Regions from separate parts of the Homo sapiens genome. Here region 2 is linked to region 1. The links are contacts of gene promoters, found by promoter capture Hi-C in blood cells and fetal thymus (Javierre and others, 2016). All regions are on one chromosome and are shown on one strand. Each heading gives the region's core, a stretch centred on a gene start or on the middle of the fragment in contact. The rest is flanking DNA. Distances are from core to core; before and after follow the strand shown.

Evidence for each region. Contacts are between HindIII fragments. The CHiCAGO score rates a contact against its expected background, and 5 or more counts as called.
Region 2: a fragment that was not itself captured here is called in contact with the fragment with the promoter of CCDC112 in region 1 in 3 of 17 cell types (total B cells, total CD4 T cells and total CD8 T cells); the score reaches 6.4 in total B cells.

What each region holds. Positions count from the first base shown.
Region 1 is chr5:115,292,816-115,299,764 of GRCh38, reverse strand. It overlaps CCDC112 (coiled-coil domain containing 112), which reads left to right and starts at 3,111. Exons shown (of 10, transcript NM_001040440.3): 1 at 3,111-3,338. The coding sequence starts at 3,222. LOC105379129 (a long non-coding RNA gene) reads right to left here and starts at 2,837. Exons shown (of 5, transcript XR_948684.3): 1 at 2,417-2,837. RefSeq lists a silencer at 3,013-3,462. The HindIII fragment of the contact is 8,729 bases long and covers 1-6,255 here.
Region 2 is chr5:113,610,767-113,617,715 of GRCh38, reverse strand. No RefSeq gene overlaps it. Among named protein-coding and RNA genes, the nearest start is that of YTHDC2, 100 kb to the right of the region's middle. The HindIII fragment of the contact is 2,823 bases long and covers 2,683-5,505 here.

The sequences.
Region 1 (6,949 bases), core at 1,862-4,361:
ATGTATTTGTCTATTTACCTTTTTTTCTTTTGCAAATGAAACATAAAAGAACCAGAAATTAACACAATTATTTACCATAGAGGATTAGTTGAAAGGCCATGGAGAGGATATGTTGGGGAGTAAGCCTTCTTTAAACATACCTTGTCATAGAGTTTTGACTTTATACATGTTATACATAACTTACTTATTTTTTAAAAAAAGTAAATTGAAAGAAAACAAAACAAAAAAGGAAACATTGAAATTGAACACAAATGTAATCAAAAGAACTGAAATATATATCAAATTGATTCCATAGCACATAGAGAAAAGGGTGATTTCAGAAAACTTCTGAACACAGTACTCTAGATATCCAGTGCAGGATATACTCTAAAAACAATAGGAAGTGCAAAATGATCTTAGGCTTCTCTTTATTTTTAGTGGCAGTATTAAAATTGTAAAAGACCACTCAACTCAAATCGTTGGTTGACTTGCTTTTTTTCCGAGGCTGCAAGATAATTCTGGACTAATAATTACAGGAATTCAGACAGTGCTATAGTAACAGGGCTCATTTGGATAAAAGGTAATACAAAAATTAAAGAAGTTTTACCTTCTCAATACACCCAAGTGACTTACTTCCTCCTACTTCACACAGGGGTGGGGAGGTGGGGCCAACCATCTCCTCCCTCCAAATCTTCCAACTACCTTGTGCTGCAACCCATGTATGCAGGACTCTCTGGCCTCCCCATAGTCCCCACCCACTACCTCCCTGTGTCAGAAGAGTCTGTGCGTCTATCAAAGACCAAACCTCCCACTTATGCTCTGGACTCCATCAGCCTTACTTTCAAGAGGGTCTGACTGCCTCTGTCCTGCAGCATCAAACTTCTGTCTCCACTAAATAATTCCCAGCAGCATGAACTCCTTCTACTAGTCCCTACCTTGAAACACAACACAACAACAAAGACCCTCTTTGATCACACATCTTCCCCCAGCTACCACTTCATTTCTCTGATCACCTGCACCATAAAATCGATCAAAATCATAGCGAAAAACAGTTTCTACCTCGTCACCTCCATTATCTCCTCAATGCAGTCAGCCAGGCTTTGGTCTACCTACCCCATAAACCCACGGCCTCCCTGTTGCCAAATGCAACCATCATTTCTTTGTTACCCCTTCACTCAGCCTCTAGGCAGTGAACCACACAGCTGACCATTTTCTCCTCCTCCTCCTTCTTTCTTTTTCTTCTTATTTCTTCTCCTTCTTCTTCTCTTCCTCCTCCTCCTTCTCCTCCTCCTCCTTCTCCTCCTCCTCCTCCTTCTCCTCCTCCTCCTGCTCCTCCTTCTCCTCCTCCTCCTGCTCCTCCTTCTCCTCCTCCTTCTCCCTTCTCCCTTCTCCTTCTTCTCTCTTCTCCTTCTCCTTCTTCTTCTTTGCCTTCTTCTTCTCCTCCATTCTTCTTCCTTCTTCTTCTTCTCCCCTCTTCTTCTTCTCTTTTTTTTTTTTTTTTTTTTTTTTTTTTTTTTTTTTTTTTTTTTTTTGTTGAGACGAAGTCTCACTCTGTCACCAGGCTGGAGTGCAATGACACGATCTTGGCTCACTGCAACCTCCGACTCCCTGGTTCAAGCAATTCTCCTGCCTCAGCCTCCCGAGTAGCTGGGACTACAGACAGGCGCCACCACGCCCAGCTAATTTTTGTATTTTTAGTAGAGATGGGGTTTCACCATGTTGGCCAGGATGGTCTCCATCTCCTGACCTCGTGATCCGCCCACCTCGGCCTCCCAAAGTGCTGGGATTACAGGCGTAAGCCACCACGTCCGGCCTCTTCTGCAAAAACTTCCCTCCACAGACTTCCGGTTTTCCTCCCTTCTCACAGATCTCTCCATATTGGTCCCCTTCTCCTCTTGTCCGTGGTCACCTTCTCGGAGTGGCCTAGGCTTAGTTCTCAGACTTCAATTTATACTCACCCTGGGTGAGCTCATTCAGTCTTATTTCAAATATTTTCTATAGGAAGATCAAATTCGTATCTTTAGCTCTCTCTCTCCTGGGCTCCAGAGGCGTTTATCCCGCTGCCTGTTTAATACCTCTACCAGGATGGTCTCTGGAGTCAGGCTGTCTAGATAGGTATCCTACCCTCTACCTGTGTGGCCATGTGATCCTTAACTTTATCACTGAAATGGAGATGATAATAGTACCTACTTCATGAAGTTATTTGTGAAGATTAAATGCAAAAGTGCATATAAAGCACTTATAACAGCCCTGGCATAAAGGAATTGCTCAATAAATACCTATTTGTTTACTTGTTAAAGGTGAAGGAACCTTACCTATGTGTCTAATTCAACAATGAATTCCCAAGGCCTAGAACAGTGCCTGACATATGCTAGGAGCTCCATATTGACTGACTGAATGAATCGATTTCTATAAAGGGGGAAAAGGTAGTACCTACAGAAATCAGCTCAGTTGCCACAGGTTGTCTTGACTGGAAGCGTCATCTGTGGCTTTTTTCCAACTTCCCAGCACTGTATTTTTGGAATCTGTCTTCTCATTGACCAAGTCCTAGGAATGTAACTGTGGCATTCCTGCCTCTGATATCTGGTTCTGTGGAGCAAGCTGGGTTTTTTTCTTTAAAAATCTAAAATATGATTTATTGTTAGAATCCATTGATAATGTTTTTTCATTTAGACTCAGTCTCAGCAGCGCTAAGTAGAAACCTAGAAAGCGGATGTATATTAGGTAAAAATATGTATATATTGACTATAACACGAATAAAATTTAAGGACGATGTAAGACAATGAATTTTCTTGACAGGTATGGGACTGGGCTGGCACAGTCGGTTAAGTGCCCAAAGGGTATATAAACCCGCGACAGGGCAGAGCGCAGCCCCCGCCCCGCCCCGCCCCGCCCCCACACCCGCCCGCCCCAGAACCCCAGACCCGCCCCTCCCCTGCATCCCGGCTCCGCCCGGCACCTTGCCCCTCCCTCGCCCCGCCCCTCCCCGCCTGAATCCCGGCCCCCGCCTCGCATTTCGGCCCCGCCCTGCACCCCAGTCCCGCCCCTCCCGCACCCCCGCACCCCTGCACCCCCGCATCTCAGCCCCGCCCTGCATCCCGACCCCGCCCTACATCTCGGCCCCGCCCTGCATCCCGGCCAAGCCCGCAGCGCAGGGAGCTGTCTGCAGAGGCCAGGGTGCGCCTGCCACGAATCCCCAGGCACCGGTGGCCGCCGCGGCCCGAGTAGCTCGGCGGGTAAACATGGCCGCACTGACGACGGTTGTGGTAGCGGCTGCGGCCACCGCGGTAGCCGGGGCTGTGGCAGGGGCGGGCGCGGCCACCGGGACCGGCGTGGGAGCGACGCCAGCGCCTCAACAGGTAAATCCGGGAGAACCGAGAGCTGCTCTGGCGGCAGGCGAGGGGCTGCAGGCCCTGGCTGAACAGGTGCCCTCTGCAGCGCCGGCGGGAGGCGCGGCGTTCGCCTCCCCTGCTCGGGGCCTGGCACGCGCTGGGCGTTGCTCTTTGTTGGCTTGTGCGTTTAACAGCTTTTGCAGAGCCGCCTCCATGTGGTTTCGGAGTCGAGGAAGACCTGGGTGGGAACCCGGCTCTGCCGCTTCCTAGCCGCGTGATAAGAACATATGCTGTCGGCGACTCACTTTCTTCTCTAAAAATTGGGAATAGTAACATGCACCTCCCGAGCTTTGGACTAACGTTATGTCTGGGGAGCCCCTGGCACAGTGCTTGATTGGAGGGGGACTCTGTGCTCAGTAATTGGTGGCAGCTCTGTTACTGTACCGGCGCTGGGAACACAAGGAGAAAGACAATATGGGATGGTCGGAGGCAGAGGTGTTTCCAGTGATCGGCTTAGGACCGCTTTCTAGGTGGTGAGGACAAGGTATCTTTGTTCAGATGTTATCAGCTCAGCGAGACTTTCCATGATCTCCCTAAAATGAATCGCCTTACGCGGCACACCCAGTCCCTGTTTCTGGTTTTATTTTTCCCCATAGCACTTAGTACCATATATTATATTACATACTTTATTTCTATTGTTTATGTTTCTCCTCACACCCCTCACCCTCCCTCGCACCCCCATGAGAATGTAAGCTCCATGAGGGCAGAAAGTATTGGAAATTTTATTCTTTATTGTATTCCCAGCACCAAGAACTATGCCTGTTGTGTAGTGCCTGGAACGTAGTATGCACTTACTAAATAATTTGTGGATCAATATAAACCTGAAGGAAGGCTGTCATGAGCTGAGGAGAGGTTCCATCTTTTTCCTCCTTTAAGGAAATACAGTGTCTTTACTCGTAGACCTTCAGGAAATTCCACCTACGGCAAATTTTCTCACACATCCTCTATAATTCTCTTTATTATTCTAACTCTGTCCCAAGTATCTCAGGAAAAAATGTAAAATATATAAATATACATAATACGTAAAGTATTTTTAAGTACTATGCTCAAAAAAATGTGTGACACCATGTTGCTGGCTTTCTCCATCATTTCTCTAAATTCTTGTAGCAATGTTCTGTCTTCTGATCTGCATTTCTTGCGAGTTGCCTAATGTTGTTATTGATGCACACTTTTGTGATGTTTGCCTTCTCAGGGGTTGGATCAGATCACCTGTGGAGCTCTTTCAGATATTTTATCAATCCCCTAGAGGATATCTAGCAATGTTTGGAGACATTTTTGGCTGTCAGAGTGGGGAGCAGGGGGGTGTTGAGGGGCTGCTAGCATCTAATGGATACAGGCCAGAGAACAGCCACCCATAACAAAAATCATCTGGTCCAAAAGTTAGTAGTGCTGAGATTGAGAACCATGGTGTATACTGTCTTACCACTTTAGTAGGGAAAGCAGAGCCTCATTGTTGAGAATCTACCTCAGCATAGTTAGGTAGAATTCTTCACGTGTGTTTGGGCTTTTTTAAAAAAACAAAACAAAACAATGCAGCATTACTGCATGCTATATTGTGATAATGTTTAGGAGTTTACATGTTATCCATTTTTGTACTTCCCCCAGCATACCACACGCACATACCTATACACACAAATTCTACAGCCTAACACCGAACTTGAATATTTGTCATATGATTAAATGAACGAATATTCCTACTGACTTTAACACTGAAACCAACTAGTATTTTCTTGAGAAGAGAGAATTTTCCTGGTGGCAATCTCATGATACTAGAGATGTCTACCAAAATATCTAAAGTTCCTGTCAGCTAGGGCTTCTATAACAAAATGCTACAGACTTGGTGGCTAAAACAACAAAAGTTTATTTTCTCACAGTTCTAGAAGCTAGAAGTTCAAGATCAAGTTGCCCTTAGGGTTGGTTTCTGGTGAGGCCTCTTTTCCTGGCCTGTAGGCAGCCACCTTCTCACTGTGTCCTCACATAGTCTTTTCTCTGTTACAAGAGGAGAGAAAGAGATCTCTGGCATCTCTTCTTATAGGAACACTAGTTCTATCAAATTAGGTCCCCACCTTAATGACCTCATTTAACATAAAGACCCCATCTCCAGATAGAGTTATTTGGGGATCAGGCCTTCTACATAGGAATTTTGAGGGAACACAATTCAGTCCATCACAGTGTCTTTAAATTACTTTGGAGTAAATATCTCTGAAGTTTTAAAACTATTTTATATTGTATTTTATTTTACAATATCCTCAGGGCGTGGAATCTCATAAATTCCTCACTCATTATGAAAAGTTAACACATTTTCCATACTTTTTAATATTTGTATATTATTTGTTCATAACCCCTCTTAGCTATTGCCTTTCAAAACTGAAGACCGCAAATCTCTATCCTCCTCTCCAATGTCATTTCCTTCTTGTTACCATCTGTTCTCTTGATCATTGTAGTTGCTGAATTATGACTTTTTTGAAGTATCTTTAACAGTATCACATTAGTGTGATGCTGGTTTTGTACCAGCATAAGGCTCTGTCTTCTGTTTTGTTTCTAAGGACCTTCCCTCTGATGACCTGAATTTTATGTTCCTTGGCTGCCTGAAATAACCCTTCAATAATAACTATTTTCACCTGTGACTGTGTAATCTTGCATCGTAAAAGGGACTTTGCAGGTGTGATTAAGATAAATTAAATACCTTAATTATCTGAGTGGACCTGGTGTAATCACAAAGGTCCTTATAAGAGAGTCGCAGGAAGATCAGAGTCAGAAGTAGGAGATGTGATGATGGAAGGAAGAGGATGGAGTGATGTGAGGAAGGGGCCATTAGCCAAGGAATTAAGGTGGTTCTAGATGCTGGAAAAAAAGGTAAGGGGGTGGATTCTTCCCTGAAGCTTCCAGAATGAATGTAGCCCTACTAACACCTTTGTTTTAATTAACATTATTTTTAATTGACAAATCTTAATTATATACATTTATGGGGTACAGTGTGATGTTCTGATATATGTATACAATGTGGAATGATTAAACCTGGCTAATAATTAACATATCTATCACCTCACTTATTTTTTTCTGGTGAAACATTTGAAATTTACTCTTATTTTGAGATACACAATACATTATTACTGAGTATAGTTAACCTACTGTGCAGTAGATCTCAAAACATTCCTCCTGTCTATCTGAAACTTTGCACCGTTTGACCAACTACCTATTTCCTTCCTTGCCCTCCCCACCAGCCTCTGGCAACTATTGTTCTACTCTGTGTTAGATTCCACGTGCAGTTTAAGTGAGATTATACAGGATTTGCATCTCTGTTTCACTTAGCGTAATGTCCTCCAGGTTCACACTTTGATTTTAGAGTAGACCTCCAGAACTATAAGTCAATAAATGTGTGTTGTTTAAGCCACTGCACTTATGGTGAGTTTGTTACAGCAGCAATAGGAGACACCAGGAAAGACCTAAGAAGCTCTCAGTCCTCATCCTTGTTTGTCTTTGAAACACTGTGCTGGCAGAAAGTAAATACTAAGATAGGGTTGTAAACTGCCTGCCTGCATGTAGGAGGTATGCTTCAGCATGCATACAGACCCCCT
Region 2 (6,949 bases), core at 2,845-5,344, 1.7 Mb after region 1:
CCGCCAGTCCCACGCCCTGCCTGCACTCCTCAGCCCTTGGGCTGTTGATGAGACTGGGTGCCGTGGAGCGGGGGGCGGCAGCTGTTGGGGAACCTCGGGCGGCGTGGGAGCCCACTGCAGGGGAACTCAGGCATGGCGGGCTGCAGGTCCCGAGCCCTGCCATGCAGGGAGGTGGCTGAGGCCCAGCGAGAATTCAAGCGTGTCGCGCATGGGCCGGCAGTGCTGGGCGACCCAGCACACCTTCCGCAGCTGCTGGCCCGGGTGCTAAACCCCTCACTGTGCAGGCCGGCGATGCCAGCCAGCCACTCCAAGTGTGGGCCGCCAAGCCCCCGCCCACCTGGAACTCGCACTAGCCCACGAGCACCACGCCCATCCCTGGTTCCTATCCACGCCTCTCCCTCCACACCTCCCCACAAGCAGAGGGAGCCAGTTCCGGCCTGGGCCAGCCCAGAGAGGGGCCCCCACAGTGCAGTGGCGGGCTGAAGGGCTCCTCGAGCATAGCCAGAGTGGACGCTGTGGCCTGAGGAGGTGCCGAGAGCAAGCAAGGGCTGCTAGCACATTGTCACCTCTCAATCCCAGCACTTTGGGAGGCCGAGGTGGGTGGATCACGAGGTCAGGAGATCGAGACCACCCTGGCTAACAGGGTGAAACCCCATCTCTACTAAAAATACAAAAAAAGTTAGCCGGGTGTGGTGGCGGGCGCCTGTAGTCCCAGCTACTCAGGAGGCTGAGGCAGGAGAGTGGTGTGAACCTGGGAGTCAGAGCTTGCATTGAGCCGAGATCACGCCACTGCACTCCAGCCTGGGCAACAGAGCAAGACTCTGTCTCATAAAAAAAAAAAAAAAAAAGAAAAGTACCACTGACTGAGAACTTACTATATATCAGGCAATATTATATTTCATTTAACTCCGACAACAACCCTAAGAGGTACATCTGTTATTATCCTCATTTTACATATGAGGAAACTGAGGCACAGATTTAAATTATAAGTTTATCAGAGGCAGAGCTGGAGCTTCAAACCTAGTGTTGCCTCTGGTGCCTGTGCTCTGAGTCTCCAGATTATGCTGCCTCTCTTATAAAACACATTTTTATTTTAAAGCATGTCCACTTCACTGTCTCTTTTAATCTCTGTTAACAACCCTCCAGGAGTTAGATTAGGTAGGAATCTCCACTTTAGTGGGAGGGGAGGGGATTTCCAAAGTGGAGCAAGAGATTTGCTACCCACACTCTTTTCATACAACAAAGTCACAGTTGATGAAATTAAAAATTAAAAACCAAATGAAATATAATAAAATATAAAATAGGATTCTTTTCTTATGCCACACACAAAATCAGCTCAGAATGGATTAAAGGCTTAAATGTAAGACCTGAAACTGCAAAACTCCAGACACAGAAAGAAAAATATTGCATGATCTCACTTAAATGTGTAATCTTTAAAAAAAAAAAAATGTCGAAGACACAAAGACAAAGAACAAAATGATGGTTACCAGCGGTGGGGTGGGGGAAGGAGGGAGGAAATAAGGAGATGCAGATCAAAGGATACAAAGTTGCAGATATGTAGAATGAATAAGTCTAGAGATCTAATGGAACGTGAGGACTATAGAAACTTCAGTGAAGTTTCTGGCTGAGCAGGTCAGGGTTCTGGCTGAAAGCAGATGGAAAGAGTGAAGAGTTATTAGTGAAAGGTCTGTTTACAAAGGAGTGAGTAGAGTTAAGGAAAAATAACAAGAGATAATGAAACACCCCATGACTAGCAATAACAGGAAGCTGCTATCATTCCTGGGCCTGATGAGCCAGAGGAAGGAACAACGAGTTACTGGAAACCGAGACTCTGGTAGCTGTAGGAGAGGGTGGTCATAAGCTGTGGCCTTCAGCAGAGGGTCAAGGACATGTAACCAAATACTCTATTTTTAATTTTTTAATCTTTTTCCATTTTCCTCCTTGCTTACTTTATGTTTAGATGCTTGAAAATTATATGGTAACCTTTGCTCTCTTTCCTTCCACCAGGCACTCCCTTGCACAATGTCCCCCTCATCTAATTATATGTTTTCTTGGAAGTTCATGGACTGAGTCTTGAAACAATCTAGGTACCTATGGAATTCTCCTCCTCCAGGAGATTACTCAAAGCTGCAGTTAGCTTTCACCCCGATTGTGCCTGGGATGGTGCCAGCCCGTTCAACAGATGGGGTAATAACTCAAGTCATCAGAGCAACTTACATAGACTGACTGGCACCTCCTTGCCCCTCTTGCATGCCCCTCCCACCACCAACCTCCCTTTTTAAGCCCTTGCGTTCTATCCAGAAATTTGAAATGGTTCCTTTCAGGCACAAAGCCTTGGCGATTCCTTTCCTTCCTTCCACCCCACCTTGTCCTTGATTTTTGACCTTGCAAGTGGCAAGTAGCTGAACCTGTGTTTGGTTTCAGACCCAGTCAATCTGCCCAGCTACCCAACTGATGTAAGGAAAGAAATTCTCCAGCTCTCTCTCCTTCCATCTATCCATCTCTTGCTGTTGCTTCCCATTGGCCAAACCTAACAGGAAATCAAAGAACATAAAGGTCAGCATATTGAGGCATAGGATAGTGGACCTGTAGAGACGACAGTGATTATCCATCATCATGACTTTCACAATTGTTTACTGAAATTTAGCAGAGACAACCTTGAGTTTCAGATATAGCAAAGCTTGTCTATTAGTGCAAATGGAAAGGTTGGTTTTTAAAAGGCACTTTATTAATTTAATATTGTTAGCTTTGGTGGAAAGAAGTGTGAAGGAAAGGTACTTTGATTCCTGTCTTTTCTAGGGTGTGGCTGAGGACTGAGGAGCAAACATAATAGGGAAGTGGAGGGGAAAAGACATAGCAGTAGCTTTGGATACTGCTTAAAGACACTTTTGGAGGATTCATTTGGAAGGATTATCCTCCAGAAACGTGGGTCCTGAGCACATGTGGTAGCTCCATTTGGTGCCTTGGTTTAATGGTCTGAACATGAAGGATGCCACAGAACTCATTGAGGAAGACCCACTGCTTGTGAGAATCTGTCCAGCCACTTTTCCACCGTGCTCCACTCTCGCAGCCCATGTGACTTGAGGCTTTCTCTATCTTCATGTCTGGGAACTCCAAACACTAATATTTACAGCACATCTCTTAAGTGTTGTCAAAACTGCTTATTGTAAAGGAAAATTTTAAAGAATCTCAGGACCCCCAAACTCCTTATGCAAAAGGAAGGTTAAGCCTGAAGACTGAGTCGTGCAACATCCTCTTGCAAATGAATAGCTGCTACTAGCATTATGCATCAGCCAGATCCTCAAGGAGAGGTGGAGAAGTGAAAGGCCTCAGGCATCTAGGGAGGGCTGTCTCCACAGATCACTCATAAGTAAATTATTTGCTGGCCTCCCATAAACAAGGACATGCCAATTGTAACTGTGGGTCTACAGTCTAAGTCTAGTTCCTAAGACTAAAGTCTGTTATACATATCTTACCAGGTACAGAACAAAGACAAGATGAGGTCAGTCACTTCCTCCATCTACCCAGAAATGTCTGCATTATTGATTCTCCTTTACTCCTTTTTTTCTCTTCAGGGGTTCCCTTTATCCCATGTAAAATGTAGATTCACTGGCCACTAACTAAAGTCTCATAAGAATGTAACTGCCTACCTGTCTCTCTTCCAAATGCCGTAATCTCTTCCAAATTACATAAGAATGTAATTCATCTAACTGCCTACCTGTCTCTCTTCCAAATGCCTTCCCCTGCTTTAAGGAAGTGTATAAATACTGAACTCCTGAAAACCTCTCTGAAAAACAATCAGAGAAGAACATATGTCTATGGCTTATTTTTTCGCAGAATACCCTAAAGCTGGCTTAATAAATCTAGATAGTTGAGACTGTTACAGTAGGTAGCTAGTCAGGTGTATTAGTTCGTTTTCATGGTGCTGGTAAAGACATACCTGAGACTGAGCAATTTACAAAAGAAAAAGGTTTAATTGGACTTACAGTTCCATGTGGCTAGGGAAGCCTCACATCATGGCAGAAGGCAAGGAGGAGCAAGTCATATCTTAACTGGATGGCAGCAGGCAAAAAATGAGGGAGCGTGTGCAGGAGAATACCTCTTTTTAAAACCATCAGATCTCGTGAGACTTACTCACTATCACAGGAACAGCATGGGAAAGATTTGCCCCCATGATTCAATTACCTCCCACCTGGTCTCTCCCACAACACGTGGGAATTCAAGATGAAATCTGGGTGGGGACACAGCCATGAGGCACGAGCAGGGCAAGAGAGGGCTCCCCTAACCACCACCAGGAATGCCAGGCAACCATCAGGTGATGGTCAGGCAGTTTGTCACATGGCCTCTCCAAAATGATAATTGGTCACAGCCTCTGCCAGAGAAAGGCAGTTTCCCATTAGATAAAAACAACTGAAACTGGAGATCAGCAGCTTCCCAATAAGATCTCAGGAATTGGGTGAGTGGGCTCAAACATATGCATTAAGAGGCAAAATGGTGCAAATTAACTGGTATATGACTTTCTGGGGGCATTCCTCTGGAAAACGGAAGACTGCATCAGGTGAGCATGCTTACAACTCCAGTAAACATACTGCACATACTCACCTCCCAAGTGCTAGCAGCACCACACATGTGGGCAGCTCACCCCAAGGGAAGAATCAAGGTAAAAGGGAGGCAAGACACTGGCAGCATATAAAACCCTAAGTCCAAGGTCAAACAGGGCACTTTACCTCCAACATTCCCACTTGACCCTCTTCCAAGTGTACTTTACTTTCTTTTCATTCCTGCTCTGAAACTTGCCTTGGTCTTTTCTTCTGCCTTATGCCCCTTAGTTGAATTCTTTCTTCTGAGGAGTCAAGAACTGAGGCTGCTGCAGACCCACACAGATTATCCAACAGTAACTGTGATATTCACCATTGATAACAAGACTTTTGCCTCAGTCACTCATTCCTGTTATCATAATACGTACATCTATATAGGGTTACCTTTGGCCCTCAAAATAACATACTGCACTTAAGAAATGTCTAAAGCTAACCAGGAAAGGGGAGAGGGGAGGCTTATGTCAGAGAAAAGCGGCTTTCTTTGCAAACTCTTCCCTAAGTAAAGCTCTCTTTAGCATTATCAGGATCCCAAGAGAAGGATCAGATTTTCAGTCATGGTCAGTTTTAACTGAAATATATGTGTCTCAGAGCCAAAGGCATCTAAAGTCCACAACCAGCACCACCCCCAGTCTCTCAGCTAGCCAGAGGTGCATCCTAAAGTGATTTGGGGTTGAAAGAGGAGAGCCCAGACTCCAGGTGCTCCTTCCCCTCAGGGCATCCTTTCCATTTTTTCAAAGGGGTTTTTTTTCCAGTCAAGGCTCTCTCTTAAACTTTTGGGAACGCAGTTCCTCATGTGTAAGACAAGGAGAAGGAATATGCAGTTTCTAAAATTCCTTCCTTCCCTCAAATGGTTTTGAAGAGGTTTCGTTTAAACCACTGAGCTATTTCAATTCATATCAATGAAGCTTATGATTGGTGCATGAAAACACGTACAATATCACCATCTAGCGGATAAAAGGTAGTAATACTAGTGACAATTAATGCAGACAAATGAGTGAACTTTCAAAAGGAGAAAGCAATTATATAGAACTTTCCAGAGAGTATTTCTCAATTTTTTGTAGATTGTAGACCTCTTGGAGAAGTTATGGACCCTCCCACCGCCAAAAATGCGAAATGCATATACCTCAAATTTCTGCACACAATTTTAGACAATATATGACCCTTGAATCATATGCATGGGCCACAGTTTAACAACTTCCACTTTATACATTATTTCAATCACTAGGCAAATGAAAAAGGATCCTATAATCAGCAGGGATCAGTAAATGCTGTAGCACATCTATTGTCTTTAAAAAAAAAAATCTAACCATAATTGAAACCCCTTTCCTATTGTGGAGGTTACTGCATTGTATCAGGGTTGGTGAGAAGTAGGGTTCTACCTGACATGGCAGAAGAGGCCTGCCTGATTTTCTTTGGCCAGAAAAGCACCCGCTTATCTGGTCATTTGCTCCAATCAGACTTTGATTCTTGAAAGGGTGGTGCAAAGATAGAGGGAAGGATGAAAAGTGTTTGAAGAGCTCTATAGTGTCTAATGGCAGCAAAGCCAGGGATAAGGTCCTGGCCTGACCCTTCCTTGGCTAAAATTCCATCTTCCCACACCCCTGCCTATTTCAATATCTAGTTCTTCAATCTCGTTAATTCTGTGAATGGCTTGACATCCTTCCAATAAGTCCCTTTACTGCTTAGCTCAGAATTAATTTACAATGAACTTTTTGATTGACACACATACCAAATTCTTAAAGATGACCAGAAAGATAACTGCCATTAAATATAACATATTTTATCATTAGAATTTTTTGACATCTCACACAATTTTGGAACATATATTAACATTATCCACTAAAATATAACCTGAAGATGATTTAACATCATTTTGGCAATCTCATATACCTAAACCTGTTAAATAATCCTGTTTTTCTCTCTTTTCTGGACACTCCAGGGTCCCTTCTGGAGCCTCCGAAAAGCCAAGTATCACGAAAGACAATTTTGAAACTGAGGTTTGATTTTGGAAAACCTGGTAAATATGTTACAGGTTTAAAATATTGATGTTATGAAATAGAATTCTAGACTACCATAAATTTATTTATTTTGCCAAAATGATGACTCAAAAATTTTAAAAAGGCAAAAACCTTTCATTAGCCTTTACTATTACATGAAAATCCTGTTCAAAGCCAAATTTTACCCTTGCATTAGTTTATTAACGTTAACCCAAATTTTTTGGTAAAGCCTCATAGACAATTCCATCTAATTTTAACCATTTTGACCATGAGGTAAAATTTTTACAAACCTTTTATAACCTTTCTGCTAAAAGGCAGACTAGTTTATTAAGACAAACTTGCTGTATTTTTATT